2 separate regions of the Homo sapiens genome follow, and region 1 is linked to region 2. Evidence: promoter capture Hi-C in human tissues and cell types (Jung and others, 2019). All regions are on one chromosome and are shown on one strand. The core of a region is centred on a gene start or on the middle of the fragment in contact, and the rest is flanking DNA. Distances in the headings are between cores, read along the strand shown.

What was found. The method cuts DNA at HindIII sites, captures the fragments that hold promoters and counts their contacts. A contact is called where the count stands out against the background at its distance.
Region 1: a contact is called between a fragment that was not itself captured here and the fragment with the promoter of NDN in region 2, in 4 of the 25 tissues and cell types used here (H1 embryonic stem cells, mesenchymal stem cells, mesendoderm cells and 1 more).

What each region holds. Positions count from the first base shown.
Region 1 is chr15:23,961,434-23,964,133 of GRCh38, forward strand. All of the region lies in intron 1 of LOC107984787 (a long non-coding RNA gene), which reads left to right. Among named protein-coding and RNA genes, the nearest start is that of PWRN4, 12 kb to the right of the region's middle. The HindIII fragment of the contact is 7,761 bases long and covers 1-2,700 here.
Region 2 is chr15:23,685,958-23,688,657 of GRCh38, forward strand. NDN (necdin, MAGE family member) reads right to left here and starts at 1,348. Exons shown (of 1, transcript NM_002487.3): 1 at 1-1,348. The coding sequence starts at 1,260. The coding sequence ends at 295. The HindIII fragment of the contact is 8,447 bases long and covers 1-2,700 here.

The DNA.
Region 1 (2,700 bases), core at 95-2,594, 280 kb after region 2:
TGCAAATATATTAAAGAGTTTCCAACATACCCCACACACAGTGTCCCTTATTATTTACCTTGTACATTAGTGTGGGACATTTGTCAAATTAACCAGCCAATATCATGGATTATCATTAAGTACCATCTACACTTTATTCAGATTTCTTAGTTGTCACTTAATGTTATGTTTACGTTTTAGGATCTCATCCAGGATACCTCATGACATTTAGGTATCATGTATTTTTAGGATCTTCTGAATGTGATAATATCTCAGAGTTTTATTGTTTTTGATGGGATTGACATTTCTAATTTGTGGTTTCCCTGATGTTTCTCTCATGAAGAGACTGGATTTGTGGGTTTAGGGGAGGAAGATCACAGAGGAAATGTGCCATTCTCATCACATAATATCCCGGGCACAGGGTATCAACTGGCTTTAATCACTGTTGATGTTAATTTGATAACCTGGATGAGGTAGTTACTAACAAGTCTCTTTTGTAAAATTACTCCGGCCGGGCGTGGTGGCTCACGCCTGTAATCCCAGCACTTTGGGAGGCCGAGGCGGGCGGATCACGAGGTCAGGAGATCGAGACCATCCCGGCTAAAACGGTGAAACCCCGTCTCTACTAAAAATACAAAAAATTAGCCGGGCGTAGTGGCGGGCGCCTGTAGTCCCAGCTACTTGGGAGGCTGAGGCAGGAGAATGGCGTGAACCCGGGAGACGGAGCTTGCAGTGAGCCGAGATCCCGCCACTGCACTCCAGCCTGGGCGACAGAGCGAGACTCCGTCTCAAAAAAAAAAAAAAAAAAAAATTACTCCTTTCCCCCCTTTTCATGTTGTATGCATGAAAAAAAGTCACTATATACAACACACACTTAAAAGTGGGGGAATCATGCACCACTGCTTTTTAAAAAAAATTGTAGGTTTAGGATTATAAGTGGTTTTGGGTTGCATGAATGAATTGTATAGTAGTGAAGTCTGGGGTTTTTAGTGTACCTGTGACCTGAAGAGTGTATATTTTACCTCATAGTGAGAGGTGAAGCCAGCTGGACTTCCTGGGTCAAGTGGGGACTTGGGGAACTTTTCTTACAAGAGGATTGTAAAATGCACCAATCAGGAACTTTTGTGTCTTGCAAGAGGTTTGTAAAACGCACCAATCACCGCTCTGTAAAATGCACCAATCAGTGCTCTGTAAAACGCACCAATCAGCAGGATTCTAAAAGTAGCCAATAGTGGGGAGGATTGAAAAAAGGGCACTCTGATAGGACAGAAACGGAACATGGGAGGGGACAATACGGGAATAAACAATGGCCTCCTCCCAGCAGCCGCAAGCTGGTCCGGTCCTTTTCGAGGGTGTGGAAGCTTTGTGTTTTTGCTCTTCACTGTTAACCTTGCTACCTCTTGTTGTTTGGGTCCGTGCCATCTTTAAGAGCTGTAACACTCACTGGGAAGGTCCGCTGCTGAGTCGGTGCCATCTTTAAGAGCTATAACACTCACTGCGAAGGTCGACTGCTGAGGGTTCCCGGCTGTGAAGTCAGCGGGACCACGAACCCACAGGCAGGAACCAACTCCGGACACAATGGGTGATTTTTCATTTCTCACTCCCCGCTAACCCTTCTCCTTTCTGAGTCTAATGTCCATGATCCCACTTTGATTTTGTTCGTATATTTGGTTGTATTATTGATTCACTTTTTCTTTCTTGGTGGCACTACAAGTTGCTCCAGGTTAACTGTGTTGATTTTCTTCTCAAGCATAGTATTAAACATGTTTATCCATATTATGAAAAACATAGTATTAAACATGTTTATTCATAACTTATCTCCCATTTATAAGTGATAATCTGCAGTGTTTTTCTGTTCCTGAGTTACTTCCCTTAGGATAATGGCCTCCAGTTCCATCCAAATTGCTGCAAAAGACTTTATTTTGTTCTTTTACATGGCTGAGTAGTATTTTGTGGTATAGTGATATATATATTTTGTGATATATATTGATATATATTTTGTGATATTCATTTTGTGATATATGTATTTTGTGATATATGTATTTTGTGATATATGTATTTTGTGATGCATATATACCACATTTACTTTATCTGCTTGTTGATGGGCACTTAGATTCATTTAATATTTTTGCAGTTGTGAAATCTATTGTGATTAACCTAGAAGTGTAGATGTCTTTTTGATATATTGACTTCTTTTCATTCGAGTGTATACCCAGTAATGGGATTTCTGGATTGGATATTAGATCTGCTTTTAGTTCATTGAGAAATCTTCATACTGTTTACCATACAGGTTGTACTAATTTACATTCCCACCAAGGGTGTATAAGCACATTCCCTTTTCACCTTATCTTCACCAATAGCTATTATTTATTGACTGTTGAATAATGGCCATTCTGACTAGGGTAAGGTGATATCTTATGATTTTAATTTGCATTCCCTGATACTGACATTCAGCATTTTTTCGTATGTTTTTGATCACTTACAAGTCATCTTTTGAAAGATACCTGTTCATTTGCCCACTTTTTAATGGGATTATTCATTTTTTTGCTGATTTTTTTAACTTGCCAAAATAAGGTTTTTAGTTGATAAATAAGTTTAAAGTTTATAAATAAGGTGATAAATAAGGTTTTTAGTTTATATACTTTTATGTTTACCTTTTGTATACTTTTATGTTTATCCTTTGTGTTATAAAATTATATAGGATTTATTCATTTACTTAAA
Region 2 (2,700 bases), core at 98-2,597:
TCAATGTATTTCATCAGTTTAGCACATCTCTGGTACAAAAATCCAAGAAAGGTAGCACAAAAGCGAAAGCACCAACCAAGCTTACATATAAACAAACATGCATACATCCTAAATACTACACAATAGTACCCAAATGAATACAACATTGCATTAAAGGTATAAAAGCACTGTACTGAAAACTTAAAAGTTACACGTGAATACTGCACTGTAAATCCTGAATACTATAATGACCCACCCCCACCCTTCCACAGCCCTGGTGAGGGTCAGAAACCATTCATCTGCCTCCAGACTTTGCTAGTCCTCAGAGACACTGCTGCGAGGGTAGTGGGCAGTGGGATTAGCCTCCCGCAGAGCTCTGGCCTCCTCCAGAGCTTCTCTGTATCGGGAGGGCCAGGCCTGGGGGTCTTTCTTAAAGACCCTGGCCAGGAACTCCATGATTTGCATCTTGGTGATTTCGCGGCTGGCCCGGGAGCCCCAAAAGAACTCGTATTCGGGCGGCTCCACGTATGGGACGCGCTGGTACTTCAGGTAATTCATTTGGACGAACTCCTCAGTGATGAGCTTCCGCACGTCCCCGAAGGTGGAGTGCTTCTTCCAGGGCCGCAGCCCCAGGATGCGCAGCACGTTCCAGACGGCGCTCTCTCTGGCGCCGCGGCCCTTCACGTAGATGAGGCTCAGGATCATGAGCAGGAGGCCTGTCATGGGCATGCGGTTGCTCAGCGCCACCCTGTCCAGCTCCTCGGGCTCCAGCGCTTTGACCAGCGCAAACTCCATGGTGTGCAGGCTGGTTAGCCTCAGGTGCAGCCCGAACACCCGGGCGAGGATGAGGCTGGTGCGCCGGAGGATGCTCCTGCACCACTTCTTGTAGCTGCCGATGACATCTTTCACCATGTCTGGAAACCAGATGATCATCTTCTTCTGGTCCTTGACCAGCACGTACCACATGAGCTCGTGCGCCTTCTGCACCAGCTGCGCCGGGGCTGGCGGTGCCGGGCCCGGCTGGGCCGCGCTCGGGGCCTGGTGGGCGCGGCCCTCCTCCGCAGCCTGCTGCAGGGCCTTCGGGTCGCCCTCGTCGTTCGGGGCCTGGGGAGGCGGCGCGGCCTGCGGAGCGGCCGTCGGGCCTAGAGGAGGGCTCTGCGGCTCTGCCAGGGTCGCGGACGGAGGAACCCCCTCCGAAACCCCAGGGCTGCTGTGCACCTCGGAGTTGGGGGCCTCGGCTGCAAAGTTAGGGTCGCTCAGATCCTTACTTTGTTCTGACATGTCTGCGCCGTCTGGCAAGGGCAGGGCCTCTGCGTCCAGGAGCTCTTCGAGCCTGCGCTCCCTCCGCGGATTCCTGGAGAGGAAGTGCGCGTTGCTGCGCGCGGCGCCTTCCGCAGCGACGGGCAGGGCGGGGCGGCGGCGGGACGCGGCACTGCGCCTGCGCGACCGCGGCCTTGGCCAGCGGCTGGGGGCGGGCGGGGCAGCGCGGGGCCCCGACGGGGAGGGTCCATGGCGAGGCTTCACCTGCTGGGAGAGCGATCCCGGGGTTTCCTGTTTGGGCTGAGAAGATCTAGGGCAGGAGAGAAGTGAGATGGATGCGTACTGGAGAAGGGGCCAGTTTAAGGGAAAGATACCTTAAGTTTTTGGGATGTTGGGGTCAAGTTTCTTGGGAAACGCTTACCTGGGTATATCCAGAATTAAGTTAAATATGAGAGTCCCAGAGAAAGGTCTGGGCGGCTTTGTAAACATGAGCTTTATGCGAACCAGTGAGAGGAACAGTCGGGCTTGTCCAAGAAAATGTGTAAACTGTAAAGTGGATGTCTGAGGTTGGAATCCTGAGAAATTCCAATAAAAAATGATCGACTCCCTACCAAATCAGATAGGCTATAAGAAAAGGGGAAATGCAGTGTGTCGTTAACGTAATTTCCTATCAACCCATGTGAACTATGAACTTTTTAAGTAGGCAGTGGACTTAGAGCATCATTAATGCTTTAACGGGCATAAATTTGGGTTTTACACTTCCTTTGGGTAACTTTGATTCCATTTTATTTTTTTCCATACTTAGTCCATAGCAGAAGGATTGCTATATCTTTTAGCACAAACTTGTATGATAATGTCTTTTCCCTCTGCCCAGCACCCTCATTCTTCAATTCACCTTCTCTCAGGACCCTCTCTGAAGCTACTGAGTCCTCCACGTTGGAAGCCACACCCAAGTCTTTCCTGAGATTTAAAAAAAAAATAGGTCCCATGGGTAATATCTGGTAGTGTCTCTGAGATGACCAAAGGGTAGCAGGGGAAACATAGGTAACCCTGTTTTCCAGGTATGGAAAACAGATTCCCAGTGGGCAAAGACAAAACTGTCACTCCTACAGGCTCTCCATGAAAAAAAGGGTCATTGCCTGAGCATCTGAAACCAGGGACCTTAATGCTGCTTCAGCATCCTTGGTCTGGGCTGATGTGGTCCTTCAGCTCTTCCCGGGTTTCTTCTCATCAGCAGCTTCTTAAATATGCTGTCTTGAATCTAGTTATTGCCACTCGAAGCCAAAAGCATATTTAAAAATTGTCTTGACATGTCTAGAGTCCTCACTGTGAGTATGTATCTTTTCCCACTTTATTTTTCCTCAAGCAGGTTGATGTTGAAAGGTTTTCTGTGCTTTCTCTCTTTGGGTTTGCACGCACATAACACTTTTGGCAGAGCCATTACCACACCAGTCCCTCCAA